Linked DNA regions of Homo sapiens: all the other regions are linked to region 2. The links are contacts of gene promoters, found by promoter capture Hi-C in blood cells and fetal thymus (Javierre and others, 2016). All regions are on one chromosome and are shown on one strand. Each heading gives the region's core, a stretch centred on a gene start or on the middle of the fragment in contact. The rest is flanking DNA. Distances are from core to core; before and after follow the strand shown. Region 1 has its middle 17 kb from the start of OR4D9. Region 2 holds the start of PATL1 (PAT1 homolog 1, processing body mRNA decay factor). Region 3 has its middle 18 kb from the start of OOSP1.

Region 1 (4,585 bases), core at 1,052-3,551, 140 kb before region 2:
CATTAATTTATTTCTAAGAGATCTGTTAACACCTTTGATCACTTACTTTAAGGCTTTTTTTTTTTCAGACAGTCTCACTCTGTTGCCCAAGCTGGAATGCAGTGACACGATCTCAGCTCACTGAAACCTCTGCCTCCCAGGTTCAAACAACTCTCCTGCCTCAGCCTCCTGAGTAGCTGGGATTACAGGCGTGTGCCACCACGCCTGGCTAATTTTTGTGCTTTTTTAGTAGAGAAAGGGTTTTTCATTTTGGGCAGGCTAGTCTCAAACTCCTGGCCACAAGCAATCTGCCTGCTGTGGCCTCCCAAAGTGCTGGGATTACAGGCGTGAGCCACCGAGCCCAGCCAGAGCATTGAATAATCTTAAACACTCCATGAATTGATGATACTCATCAACCCCTTAATCATCAATATCTTTCTTGTTTTCAGTTTTATTTTACCTTCATTGATGCTGGTATTGCATTTTGTTGTTGTTTTGTTTGTTTGTTTTGAGATGGAGTCTCGCTCTGTTGCCCAGGATGGAGTGCAGTGGCGTAATCTCAGCTCACTGCAACCTCCGCCTCCCGGGTTCAAGCGATTCTCCTGCCTCAGCTGGGACTACAGGCATGCGCCAGGATGCCTGGCTACTTTTTGTATTTTTTAGTAGAGACAGGGTTTCGCCATGCTAGCCAGGGTGGTCTCGATCTCCTGACTTCGTGATCCACCCACCTCGGGCTCCCACAGTGCTAGGATTACAGGCATGAGCCACCGCGCCCGGCCTTGTTGTTGTTTTAAACAGAGTTTCACTCTGTCACCCAGGCTGGAGTGCAGTGGCATGATCTCGGCTCTCTGTAACCTCTGCCTCCCAGGATCAAGCAATTCTCTTGCCTCAGGCTCCCGAGAAGCTGGGATTACAGGCGCCTGCCACCATACCCGGCTAATTTTTGTATTTTTAGATTTTTAGTACAGACGAGGTTTCACCATGTTGGCCAGGCTGGTCTCAAACTCCTGACTCAAGTGATTCGCCCACCTCGGCCTCCCAAAGTGCTAGGGTTACAGGTCTGAGCCACTGCACCTGGCCTTTTGCTAGTATCTCAATTTAAAGTAATAAAAATGGAATAAGGACCAGCATAAATATAATTAGTTGAGGGCATTTGGGGCCGAGGAAGAGCATGAGCACAGATATGGTCCAGCAAACTTCAATTTGGAGGAACAGCACTGTATGGGCAGGGCAGTAACCAAAAAAGAAGAAAGAAAAACCAAGAAAGGAAAGGAAAGTGTTGGAGCCAGGTAAGAAGGTAGGAACTGGGGTCAAATGCTAGAAGTTGACTCGGAAGACATTAGCATACCTTTAAGCAAAGGTACCCAAGGCTTACTGATTAATCGTTAAGCATATGAATGTCAAGCTCAGTTTTAATCCTACTTCTATCATTTACTGACCCATGAAAATCTTGACATTAATACACGGAAGTGACTGCAAATCACATAAATGCATGCTGCTAGATCCAAAATAAGTGTATCCTAACTCAACCTCACCTTAACTAGATCCCCAAAATGCCTGTGACCTCTCTAAAGCCACCAAACTAAGAATTGTGATGGAAGGGAGTTCAGAGAAGAAACAGGAGCCCCAGCTGATTGTGGTTATAATATTTTACTATTGCAAGCTCTACAAAAACATGTGACCCTGTGAGCATATTGCTAGGGCACTTCCCAGGGCCTTGGGCTCCTCAAATAAGGGGCTACAAGGCTTAAGCTCCATTAGCCTCATGAGAAATCCAATTTTAATCCTCTAGCCAGACCAAGGCCTCCTCAGAACTGGAACCCCTGGGACTGAGTCAAATGTACTAACATAGGTCTGTCATAGATTTCATCTTTTTAGAATTTCATAATACAGGTACCAGTGAAGTGCTGCATAAACCACATTCAAAACTAAGATTTTATTTCTAGACAAACCTGACCTGTGAATATATTGGTGCCAGGTAATCTCTTTAACAAACAAATCACATTTACATTCAAAATGGCATCTGCAGGGGTGAGATGCAGTTTTCCACTCGATCCTGGAATGGCAAGAAGAGGCCCTTGTGCCTCAGGGGCACTAACAGGTTGCTTCCTTCTAACAGACGTCCCTGGGGATAGGAGCCCTCCGCTGTGATTTAAGGTGCAAAAAACTGACTATTTCAATCTGCTTGCTCCTTCTTTACATTTGGGAATTTCTAATTCTTTGAATGTTATAGCTAACTCCAGGCTAACAAAGACCTCCCTTCTTTCCACACTTTGTTAAAAATCTTTCTCAAGATAGGGCACAGTGGCTTATGCCTGTAATCCCACCGCTTTGGAAGGCTGAGGCAGGAGTTCGAAAAAATAAATATTCTACCATTGCTCTATGAATGTAGCAAGGTTGGCATCCAAATCTCATGACTTCCAAGATGGTGTCTTTTCTCTATACCCTATTACTTCTGATTATAGTTCAACACAAAAGCAAAAAAACAAAACAAAAAAAAAAAACTTGTATGCATTATCTTGTGTTCTGATTTTTCTTAATACTTTTAAATATTTACTCTGAAGAAAATACCTGGCCTTTTAAAAACGAAAAATGTTTGAAAATGATGACATTCGCTGAGTTATTGATGGATTAATAATTAATTGGGAGTCAGCCTAGAAAATTGGCTTTGTGTTGCTTGAACTTCAAAGGGAAGATCATAGGAGGTAAATTAGCTGAGTAGAAGTTGTGCTCTGATGAAACAATGAGAGGTAAAGTACTGTGAAATCCAGAGAGCTCAGCGGTTAGCAGCAGGACCAGACATTGGCCTCAGTATGGGCAGAACATGGAGGGAAAGTGTACAAAGGCACATCAAACATACACACAGTGGGACATTAGTTAAAGCGGCAAAAACAGATTTTATTCAGTAACTACTGACAGTAGGGGAATGAGCTGGGCTCCATTGTGATTCGTGCAGAGGTGGTTCGAGCATTTTACAGGGAGAATGAATGAAGAATGGGCGAGTGTGAGGTCTCAATAGAGTCAGAGAAGTGAAAAATTGCAAACGGTTCGTCAGTGTCAATGCGATGAGGCCAGCTGTGTCTGCTAGCTGGCAATCATCAAAGGATTCCACCCTCCCACAGAGACTGGAAGACAGAGGCTTCATCCTTTTTGATAATTACATTTCAAAGGAATGGCTCCCAGGTCCTTAAGAAAGACATTTCTGAGTTCTAAGAGATGCATGTTCACAATCATAAGCCCTTTTTTGTAAATGCTCTAAGTAAGGGAGGTCAGAGGCCTATCATCAGGGTTCGGGTAAAACAAACCGTAAATTCTCCTGGCAGTATTGAGCTTACTCAAGCAGGCATTTAATGGGGGGCTGCGGTCATTCTAAGGAAACAGCCTTATGCTGCTAGAAGCCATGTGAGAGTTTGGTCTAGTTCAGGGGTTTCGACGGAGCTATATGCGGAGAGTTCTGCAGTTCTCAGGAGCATGAGGTTTGGGGGATAATGGAGATACTCATTATCCTAATTGTAGTGTCAGTTTCACAGGTGTGTGTGTGTGTAAGTGTGTGTGTGTGTGTGAAAACTCATCAAGTTGTACCCTTTAAATATGTGCAGCTTATAATATATAAGTTATACTTTAGCAAAGCAAGGGGCAATTTCATTTTAAGCAGTTTGCAAAACACAAAAGACATCCAGAAGCCTGTCAGCACCCAAACTGGTATTTATTTTAAATGTTCTTTTTAAAACAGAGTGGAAAGCAGGAGGAGTTAAATTAGGATTTACAAGAAGTGATGTTTGGCAATAAAAGTTAAAAAGAGTGTTTCTTTACTTTGTACTCTAATTGTTTTATCCTTTGACTTATCTACTTTTTAAAAGTTAATATCTTTTTTTTTTTTTTTTTTTGAAACAATGGTCTCACTCTGTCGCCCAGGCTCGAGGGCAGCGGCACAATCTCGGCTCAGTGCAACCTCCGCCTCCCGGATGCAAGCAATTCTTGTGCTTCAGCCTCCCAAGTAGCTGGAACTACAGGTGCCCACCACCACGCCCAGGTAATTTTTTGTATTTTAATACAGACTAGTTTTCATCATGTTGCCCAGGCTGGTCTGGAACTCCTGAACTCAGAAAATCTACCCGCCTTGGCCTCCCAAAGTGCTGGGATTACAGGCAGGAGCCACCACGCACAGCTTTTATTTCTTTTTTTTTTTTTTTTTTTTTTTTGAGACGGAGTCTCGCTCTGTTGCCCAGGCTAGAGTGCAGTGGGACAATCTCGGCTCACTGCAAGCTCTGCCTCCCGGGTTCACGCCATTCTCCTGCCTCAGCCTCCCGAGTAGCTGGGACTACAGGCGCCCGCCACCACGCCTGGCTAATTTTTTGTATTTTTAGTACAGACGGGGTTTCACCGTGTTAGCCAGAATGGTCTCGATCTCCTGACCTCGTGATCCGCCTGCCTCGGCCTCCCAAAGTGCTGCTGGGGCTACAAGCGTGAGCCACCATGCCCGGCTGGCTTTTATTTCTTAAAGCAGCTTTAGATTCACAGAAAAATTAAACTGAAATTATAGGGTTCCCATATACCTCCTCACCCCTCCAACACCACAGTTATCCCTCATTTGTTAACAGTTGAA
Region 2 (5,031 bases), core at 1,943-4,442:
CTTGTTCTACACCTGTTCTAAGTAACATGTGTTCTCAAACTTTATCATATAAGCTTACTTCCTAAATTTTCCATCTTGGCATTTATAACCCCGTGGCCTGTAACCTTAGTTTGGCTCTTCAGTTTTTAAACTTTTTCCAACTCTTAAAATATGTATCTATAGGCTGGGCGCGGTGGCTCAGGCCTGTAATCCCAGCACTTTGGGAGGCCGAGATGGGCGGATCACGAGGTCAGGAGTTTGAGACCAGCCTGGTTAGCTCGGTGTGGTGGCGGGCACCTGTAATCCCGGCTACTCGGGAGCCTGAGGCAGGAGAACTGTTTGAACTCAGGAGGCGGAGGTTGCAGTGAGCCAAGATCGTGCCACTGCACTCCAGCCTGGGTGACAGAGCAAGACTTCATCTCGAAAAAGAATAAATAAATAAATAAATAATATGTATCTATACCCAGGGATGGACAAAATTTCATCTGTGCATACTTTTCTAACTTATGAGTCCTTTCTTGACCCCCAAAATTCTTGCTATAAAAAGCTTTATATTTTGAAGATACTATAAGTTGCAAAGTTATATACTAGTGATAGACTAAATTTTGAAACACATATACCCACATCCTAGAATCTGAATTTTCTACTAGTACACTAGTTTTCCATAAGTTATATGTTATACAAATAAAAATTCCTCTCATCTAGGATTAATTTAAATCTCTCTTAAATGTTTACTTCTCTAAACATTTGAATCCCTCATAGGGGCAACCTGTAGTCATCGATCATATAGCTGGAAGGGGCAAGGCTTACAGAATACCTGATTTTATAGGTAAGGCAAAAAGAGACCCAGAGGAGCAGGATAGGTGCTGTTTCCAGTGAAGAATGAACTATTCTAAGATGAGGAATAGAAGAATATCTTGCCAAGTTAGTGAATAAGGTTACCCCTAATAAGATAAAGCACTTCTAAAAGACAGCACTTGAAAAGAGCAGGAGGCTAAGATGATATTATAAGCGAAAGATGTCACTTACCAACTGCACCTGACCCAAATGTATCATCATTGAATTGATCAATCTCTTCATCTTCTTCTCCCAGTCCCTGAAATGCATCTTCATCTTCATCCAGAGGACAATCCTCCAAAGACTAAAAAAAAAGAAAAGACATTAGTTATTCATGAAATTCACACCCTCATTTTAAAAATGTTCTAAAAATGTTCATCTTACCTTCTCAATGAACATAATTGCTTCATTATGACTTTTTGTAAAGATGGCATTTTTTTTCTACTTCCCAATTTCCCTGACACTGGAAGATTTCATCATCTTTCTTTCACTTTCTATTTCCTAATCCTTATTTCATTTAATTCTTGCCCCACCTCACAGCATTCCATTTCTCTATTTTATCAAGAATCCACGAACAGCAGTTCCTCATGCAACCAAGAAATTAAGCCCACAACTTTCCTTACATCACTGGTTGGAATACTGATGACAATTAATAATGAACCCTTTATTTTCTTGTATCTTTATGTATCTTTTCCAGCAAAATTCTCATCTTTCTCATTATATTCATGTCATCTTTTCAACTATTATTCCGTTTTAAAGCTTTGTCTTCATTTTCCATCTTTCTTATCTTCCCTATAGGCCTAAACTCTAGTGATGAAACAGAAAATTAGGTCTTCAACCACAATAAAATGAACTCTGGAAAAGCTGTGGTATGACAAGTTCAAGTTCTGGCTCCATTCCTACAATCAGTGTGAACATGGGCAACTCAGAAAATTTCTAATTAATTCATCAAATACCTTTTAAGGACCTATTGCGTCTAAGGTTCTGTGCTAGGCTGTAAGGCTCAATGTCTTACATTGTAATGCAGGGACAATACCAACTATGGCAGAGAGTTGTGATGATCAAAGTGGGCAAAGATTACAGATTATCGAACAAAGGCTAGAGGCCACCACATCCTAGGTGTGTTCTATTTTCCCCCTTTACTTCAATCTTACTCAACTGATTTATTCTCCAAGTTTTCCTTTTGGTTTGGTCTTAGATCATTCCTATCAAGTATACCTGTCCTCAATTTTCAAAAATTCAGAATCAGAATTCCATATTCTATCAGTAGGTACGTTTGTGATACACCTTGCCTGGCTACCTCTTAGCTACCCTGTTTACAATGGAAAGATTAGGTCAAAGGGCGTTCTTCTTACCCCAGAGCCCTTCCAAACTCATGCCAATAGGCATGCCACTGCCTCCTTATCAGAGGCAACTTCCAGCAGTACTCCCTTCCAAATCACAAATATCTACTTTACCAAATCGCTGCTTTTTTAAATTAAAAATTCTTAAGGATCATTTACATCAGTTCTTTCATGCTACAAATTCAGAAAGTTTACGTCCAGAGATTAGGAGTCACTCAAGGTCACACAGTGAGTTGGTGACAGGGTCAGTACTGTCTGCTGCTATTGCTACATTCCCGGCACCTTCTCCAAACCCGCGTCTCCCAGCACTAGCCCAGAAGGAACTTCTGCAGGACACGCCCCCCTCCCAACTCGGAGCCCTCTTTAGTAAACGGGCTGGGGCCCTAATCCAACGGCAAGCCCAGGCCCCCTTCACCTGAAGGTAGCCTGTGTGAATGGGATGTGTGTCAGTGTAATTCGAGTGGAGGTGGGTGGGGGGTGGTTCCGGGTCCAGGGCGGGAAACGCGGCTCTGGGAATTCCCGGGTGACACCTACTTAAGAAAAGCACCCGGGGAGATGCAGTGCTCTACCCTCCGTGGCTCCTCTAGGGGTGGGGGCGGGGGTGTGGTCTGGTTACAGCACTTAACGGGCCCTCCCCACCCCAAAACGGAGGCCAACTTTCCCCAGCGGCAACTAATGGGACTGTCTCGACCCATGAAGCCAGCTCCCAGCCCTAGGATTAGACCCGCGACCCCAGACCAGTCGCGTCCAGCTAAGTCCTGCGACTCCCCCAGCCCGCCCCCTGCCCCGCAGGAACACAGGACCGGCGCGCGGAGAGAGAGTGAGGGAGAGGGGCGCGGGAGGGAGGGAGGGGTCACTTCCGGTCGCAACAGCTCACCTCGTAGCGGAACATTCTTGGGGAGGGGGGCAGGGAGCGGGGAGGGGAGAGGGGGAGGGAGGGAAGAAGCGCTGACTCCCCGGCTCCTCCGCGCGCGGGTCCTCCACCGGCTCGCGACCCCTGGCCGCCGCCGTACGCCGGAGCGTGCGTGGGGACGTGCGCAGGCGCGCCTCAGGCAGGGCGGCCACCCCGCTCGGCGCCCGGCGGCGGCGGCTGCGCAGGGACAGATTTGGCGTCCCGCTTCCTAGTCTCAGCGGCGGGAAGGAGGTCCCGTGGCGAGAGACTGCGCACGCGCTGCCCGTCTTCGGCTGCCTGGTGATCTGGGCTTGTAGCTCCGCCCCCTCTTTCTCCGCGCCCTCTAGGCGCTCGGCTTGGAGCTCAGGGGCCGGTCACGAGTTCTCCGTCACCCGTGGGGCGGAGAAAACCCTTGTGATTGTCACAGGATATAGCTTTGAAGAATCCTGCGCTTAGCCTGGGCTGGGAAAGATGAGATTCCCGGGCAGTTTTTCCAACGTCCGACTCACTCCTCAGGCTGCTCGGGGGTCTCCCCGTTGCAATCTGCGCCTTGCGCAGGGAAAAAAGAATGGAAAGTTGCTGGTCTTCGAAAGGGGCGGACTTCGTCGCCACTTTCAGCGGCTCGTCGCCTGCTGAATCCACAGCAGGTCAGGGCTGTGATTTATGTGGCTCAAAGTGATGACGGCGCCCGTTTTTTTTTTTTTTTTTTTTGAAATGCTGAAGACAGGTTCCGGGAGGTTTAACTAGGGTGGTATTTTTAAGCGCCAGGCTCATTAGGCGCGAGGAGCTGCAGAGCCTCGAAGGGCCGCACGGCCGTGGGCCGCTGGCCACGCAGCAGCAGGGTCTTCGGGCCGTGGTGCGCCGCTGGGTGACTCCACTTCCTTAGAGGATCGAACCCACAGAGGAATGTGTCCAGCTTAGAAGCTTCGGCCCCCTGGTTCCAGAATTCTGTTGGGTGGTTTGTTACCTCTAGCACGCTCCATGCCCTTCTTGCCCCTTTCCTTTCAGACAAAACTTGCAGCACAAAGAATGAATTCTTTTGGGTTTCGCAATCCGTTTCTTCCCTGGGCGTCTTAAAATGCAGCCTCGTCTCGGAATGGCATACAGTAAATCCCCTAAATGTTAGTGTGTCTGGATCAGTTTGAGTATCGGAAACGCTGAATTTGTGAAGAAAAGTTCTGGGTGGGAGCTTGTGCTTTGCCACTGGCTAGGAAACTTTGGGCAACTTACCTAAACCTCTCTGAGCCTTAGTTTCTTGTAAAATGGGTATAATTACACCTGCCTCATGATGGTAACACTACTAACGATTGAAGGCTGCCTGGGACTCTGCTAGGCGCTTTATAAAATGGATTATCTCATTGAATCCTTCCTTATGTGCCCCCCATGAGGTAGGTACTGTTATTTTCTCAGTTTACAGTTGAGGAACCTGAGGATTAGCGACATTGTTTGCCTCCAACCACCCAATGGCAAGTGGTAAAGCTAGCAGCTGAGATTTGTCTGATTATTAAAAACCGAGTGTCTTAATCACTGTGCCAGAATAACAAAAGCAAATGTTGACATGGGCCAGGCCTGAACTTTAAAGAAGTGGAGCGTCGGGACAAGATGATTTATTGGTTTTCAAGCATGCATGGAACATTATAAAACATCAAATACTAAGTAACAGGCCAGGCGCGGTGGCTCACGCCTGTAATCCCAGCACTTTGGGAGGCCGAGGTGGGCGGATCACAAGGTCAAGGAGATCTAGACCATCCTGGCTAACAGAGTGACACCCCGTCTCTACTAAAAATACAAAAAATTAGCCGGGCGTGGTGGCGGGCGCCTGTAGTCCCAGCTACTCGAGGGGCTGAGGCAGGAGAATTGCGTGAACCCGGGAGGCGGAGCTTGCAGTGAGCCGAGATCGCACCACTGCACTCTAGCCTGGGTGACAGAGCAAAGACTACGTCTCACAAAAAACAAACAAACAAACAAAAAAAACTAAGT
Region 3 (4,464 bases), core at 487-2,986, 250 kb after region 2:
GCCTCTTGGTAAGGTCAGAGAGTGCTGGCATAAAAATTTGAGAAATAAGTACCACCAATTGGCATACAATCTGGAGAGAAGAATGAAGCATTCTTTTAAGAGATATTGCATCACCAATGGTGGTGATGGCTCAAAGAGAGATATATTTGTGGGGAAACAGGAACATTGATGACTGCGATCCAAGAAGTGATTTAGAAGAGTGAGACTCACTGTAAAAATATTTTAGGGTTACTTCAACCAATTAATTTTGTTTATACTTGCTTTTTGTTACACTTGCTTTTGTATACAGCACAAGAGTGATATGATTAAAGATGTCCATAAGAGCTCTTTCAATTTTTATAAAATTCAAAGACTAAGTAGTAAAATGTGCCTGATTCATTGGTAGTTTCTTTAATCCTAAAGATATAAAGTTTCCTTAATCTTCGTATGAAAAATAGTGGTATAGTTAAAGCTTAGATTCAATGAAAAATGGGAGGAGATGCTCAAATATTTGTTAGATGAGTGAATAAAAATTCACCCCAGACTTTTTTTTTCCTTCCAAAGGGCCCTGTGGCTTCCTTCCTCTAAACCCATTAAACAGTGCCATCTGCAGGGAAGGCAGCTCATGACATCATGTTTAAATATTAGAAGAACAATAACAAGGTAAAAAAATTGGCAATGCCACCATTCAGCTCTCTGTGAGTATCTCTTAAAACTAGAAGTTTATTCTGACCCATCCATGAGTCAGATCTAAGATAAGCAGTTATTATCTTTAGGCAAGACTGAGTCGGCACATCAGATAGATAAAGGAAAGAGAGAGAAAGAGTTAAAATGTTTGTGCAGCCTATATTTTTCTGGCTAACAGCCACTAGGAAAAGCTGGATTGAGAAAGACCTACATTAACTTTCTTGTGTTCTAGTAACTAAACTTTTAGGCAAAGCCTAAGACTGTCCTGTTTAAACGAACTGTTTCTATCTAATAAGAAATTATAATGATATGGTATGATGGCAAAGCTATTTTAGAGGCCTGGACTCTCCATTAACCACAGCAGTTTAGCAGAGAACAAGGTCTCTGCCACAATCCATTATCCTAAATTAGCACGTGGGTGTTGGAGATGGGGGATGGCATGACAGCTCCATATGAGTATTAGGGGTTAATAAATGGAAAAGGCTGCTGCTGCTAAATCCAGCCCTATAATTACATTTTGGTCTCTGGGTCAGTTCCAGGTCACTAGCATCTCAACTAGCCTAAAACCCATATAATGCTTATTTGTAATTTTAATTTTTAGTTCCGTATTAATGGCATTTTATATGCCCCCAGTCATAATGGAACAAGAGTGAATTTGGGCATCAGAGATGCTGATTTTACTACTGATGGAATCTCAGGCCTACGTGCTGTCTGAATGCTCATGCAGTGGTTGTAGATACTGTACTTTACCTTTTAGATGGTGAGGGTGTTGAAAAGGTATTTTTTTTTCATTTCCATGTAGGTGCTTTTGTGACCATAAAATCAGTTTTACAATTAAAGTGATGCCTACATTCCTGCAGTGCATCTCTTTTCAAGAGCTTTGTTTAATAATCTCTACATGCAATAAAGGAATTGCATCTCTCTCTTTTGTGCCTCTCATGGACTTTCTTCCTTCCCCCGGTGCCCTCTGCTGCATTCTTCCTTCTTTGACTGCCAGTCCTGGTTTCTGACAATGTAACCTTGGCTGGAACTTAGGTGATGATTTTGCTTTCCTTGTTTGGTTGAGTAAACTTGTAACCCCAGGAACATGTGGAAAAAAATAGGTATAAAGTGTGCATGTTGTGTTTATAGGGATGTGGTGAAACATTTTCCAGTCACTATGCTGCTTTATGGGTGCTGTGACTTAAGATGCTTAAGGGGATTTGAGCTACTAAATATCTAAGTTTCAGTTTGTATTTATGAGTGTGATTTAAGTCATTGGGAGAGTTTATTCTAATTAGTAAGTCTGCTTTGTTAGAAATTTGAAACATTTGAGAGAATCAGATATATTAAATATGTAACTATACTTAAAATATCTGAGGATATTGACATTAAATTGCATCAGATGAGTAGGGAAGACATCATTTGTAAACTTGGATTAATTGTACATTAATCAAAGAAAAAGTAAAAAAAGTAATGATTTTAATACTTGAAAAAATAGGATTTATAGGTTGAGATACTTTAAAAAGTTTTACATATGTTTCATCAATATAATACTTATTAGAACAAAATAAAATTAAAATTTTCTTGCACAGAAATGCCTTTAAGATAGTAAAATGTCAGTAACAAATATCACATACTTAAAATTTAGTTCCATAGAAATATGTGATCTGGGAAACTGCAGTTTCTTAACAAGGCTGTGCTTTCTTGGAGAAAATGTATGGAAACAGGACATTGATAGCTAGGAACACCTTCTCCAAAAATGACTGGGTATCTTATGATGCCTTTGGGAAAAGGCATCTACTGAGGTGGTCATATGATTATTCTTTTTTATTCGGTTTATATTCACTAGAAATTGTAATTTTCACTGGATATTGAAGCCTAGATTGTTATTTTTTAAGTCAGCATTTTGAACATGAATTTTTGTCTACTGTTCTCCCTATTTCCTTCTGATACATCAGCCTTCATTCTTATTACTCTCCAATTGTAATGTGTCTATATTAGTCTGTTCTCACACTACTATAAATACATATCTGAAACTGGTTACTTATAAAGAAAAGAAGTTCTGCAGGCAGTACAGGAAATATGGCTGGGAGGCATCAGGAAACTTACAATCATGGCAGAAGGCGAAGGGGAAGCAAGCATGTCTTACATGGTGGGAGCAGGAGAAAGAAAGAGTGAAGGGGGAGGTGCTACACACCTTTAAACAACCAGATCTTGTGAGAACTCACTCACTATCATGAAAGCAGCAAGGGGGAAATACATTACCATGATTGAATCACCTCCCCACCAGGCCCCTCCTCCAGCACTGGGGATTACAATTTGACATGAGTTTGGGAGGGCCACAAATCCAAGCCATATCAGTGTCTTTTTAAAAAAAGCTTGGGAATCTTTTTATATTTCTTGTTTGCAGCAGGAAAATTGTCTTTGCACTGGCACTTTAGTTGCACCTTGTATAGGCATTGCATTTCTCCATCAGGTGGGCAGCTTCTGGATGGTCTGGTTTATGATATGACCTGTGGAACTCTTGATCATGTGTCCTGCCCTGCACTTCTTGTTATAAATGAGTCCATTGGTCTGGCATGATGTTATCTGGTATCATGCTGGTGGTGAATTAAATACTCTAAGCCCTTGGATAGTAGTGTTGACTAAGGCCCTGCAGACAAACCTATACCTGGTAGGCATATGATGTGGTCAAATTGTCACCAAGTTGCTGATTGGTCTCTTCCAGTGATATGTGATCTCAGGGACTTAGGGTTATTGTCAGGTTGGACATTTGGTAACAGCGGTAACTCGATTAGTTTTGTTAAGTCAGAACCCATGCTATTAAGCCAGATATAGCCTCCATCCTTGCCACCACAGCTATTCTGTTTGGGTTCTCTTGTGCTAACAATGGCATGGCTAATGACAGAAACTGGCCAATGTCAACTGGCCAAGTCATTTTGTCCACCTATTTGTATAGAAATTCTTCCATGGTGGATGCTCCTTGGTGGATATTAACAAGGGTTATGCTTTCATCTTCATGGTGGGAGATGCAAGACACAATTATTTGTCCTTTACAGGAAATGTCCCAGCATGTCCCAGACCACCGGACACAAAAATTTCAATCTGTTTGGGCCTCTGAAATTTTATAGGGTTTATCTCCTCTCTTTGGAACTCAGGTGTCTTACCAATTCTCCCAATGTACCAGCTACTTCTTGCTTATCCAGCTCAGTTAGTACAATATTGTCAGTATAGTGTGCCACTGTGATATTCCTTGATATGTTCACATGGCCCAGGAATCTTTGGAATATATTATGGGAGGGGGTAGGAGTGTTAATATATCTTTGAGATAACACTATACATGTATAGTGTTGTCTGTTCCAAGTAAATGCAGTTTCTGATTGACCAGATCCAGGCAGCAGCTGCATACTGTGTCCTTGAGTTTGGGGTATCATCTCTAGCAGAAATACTACCCTTGGCACAGAGCATTTAAGAAGGACTGCAGGTTTCAGGTGGGAACTTGTGAGTGTTAGAGCTATGGCTCCAGAAAGGTTTAATTCTTGCTTCAGCACTGGGAACTGAGAAAATGGGTAACCAAAGTATCACTCGATTAGAATCAGGGACAGTAACTAAACTGATAAATGCTTTTTATGAGCATGCAAATTTCTATTTCATACCAACATCCCAACCTAAAAGTTTCCACCAGGCAGATTTGTTTGGAGAGGCAGAGGAAGAGGAGGGAGAGTGGGTAGAGAGAGAGAGTGAGCTTTTACTTGGGCTCACTCTCTTTCTTTCCTCCTGTTATAGCTACACTACTCTGAATGTTGCCAATGCTCT

Evidence for each region. Contacts are between HindIII fragments. The CHiCAGO score rates a contact against its expected background, and 5 or more counts as called.
Region 1: a fragment that was not itself captured here is called in contact with the fragment with the promoter of PATL1 in region 2 in 2 of 17 cell types (activated CD4 T cells and non-activated CD4 T cells); the score reaches 5.3 in activated CD4 T cells.
Region 3: a fragment that was not itself captured here is called in contact with the fragment with the promoter of PATL1 in region 2 in 1 of 17 cell types (neutrophils); the score reaches 5.7 in neutrophils.

Annotation. Positions count from the first base shown.
Region 1 is chr11:59,525,895-59,530,479 of GRCh38, forward strand. No RefSeq gene overlaps it. Among named protein-coding and RNA genes, the nearest start is that of OR4D9, 17 kb to the left of the region's middle. RefSeq lists a silencer at 239-520 and an enhancer at 2,500-3,001. The HindIII fragment of the contact is 9,501 bases long and covers 1-4,585 here.
Region 2 is chr11:59,665,845-59,670,875 of GRCh38, forward strand. It overlaps PATL1 (PAT1 homolog 1, processing body mRNA decay factor), which reads right to left and starts at 3,193. Exons shown (of 19, transcript NM_152716.3): 1 at 3,037-3,193; 2 at 1,009-1,120. The coding sequence starts at 3,051. PATL1-DT (PATL1 divergent transcript) reads left to right here and starts at 3,466. Exons shown (of 4, transcript NR_187296.1): 1 at 3,466-3,698. RefSeq lists a silencer at 2,923-3,272 and enhancers at 3,232-3,526, 3,453-3,742. The HindIII fragment of the contact is 2,400 bases long and covers 1,574-3,973 here.
Region 3 is chr11:59,918,612-59,923,075 of GRCh38, forward strand. No RefSeq gene overlaps it. Among named protein-coding and RNA genes, the nearest start is that of OOSP1, 18 kb to the right of the region's middle. RefSeq lists a silencer at 2,858-3,018. The HindIII fragment of the contact is 2,575 bases long and covers 450-3,024 here.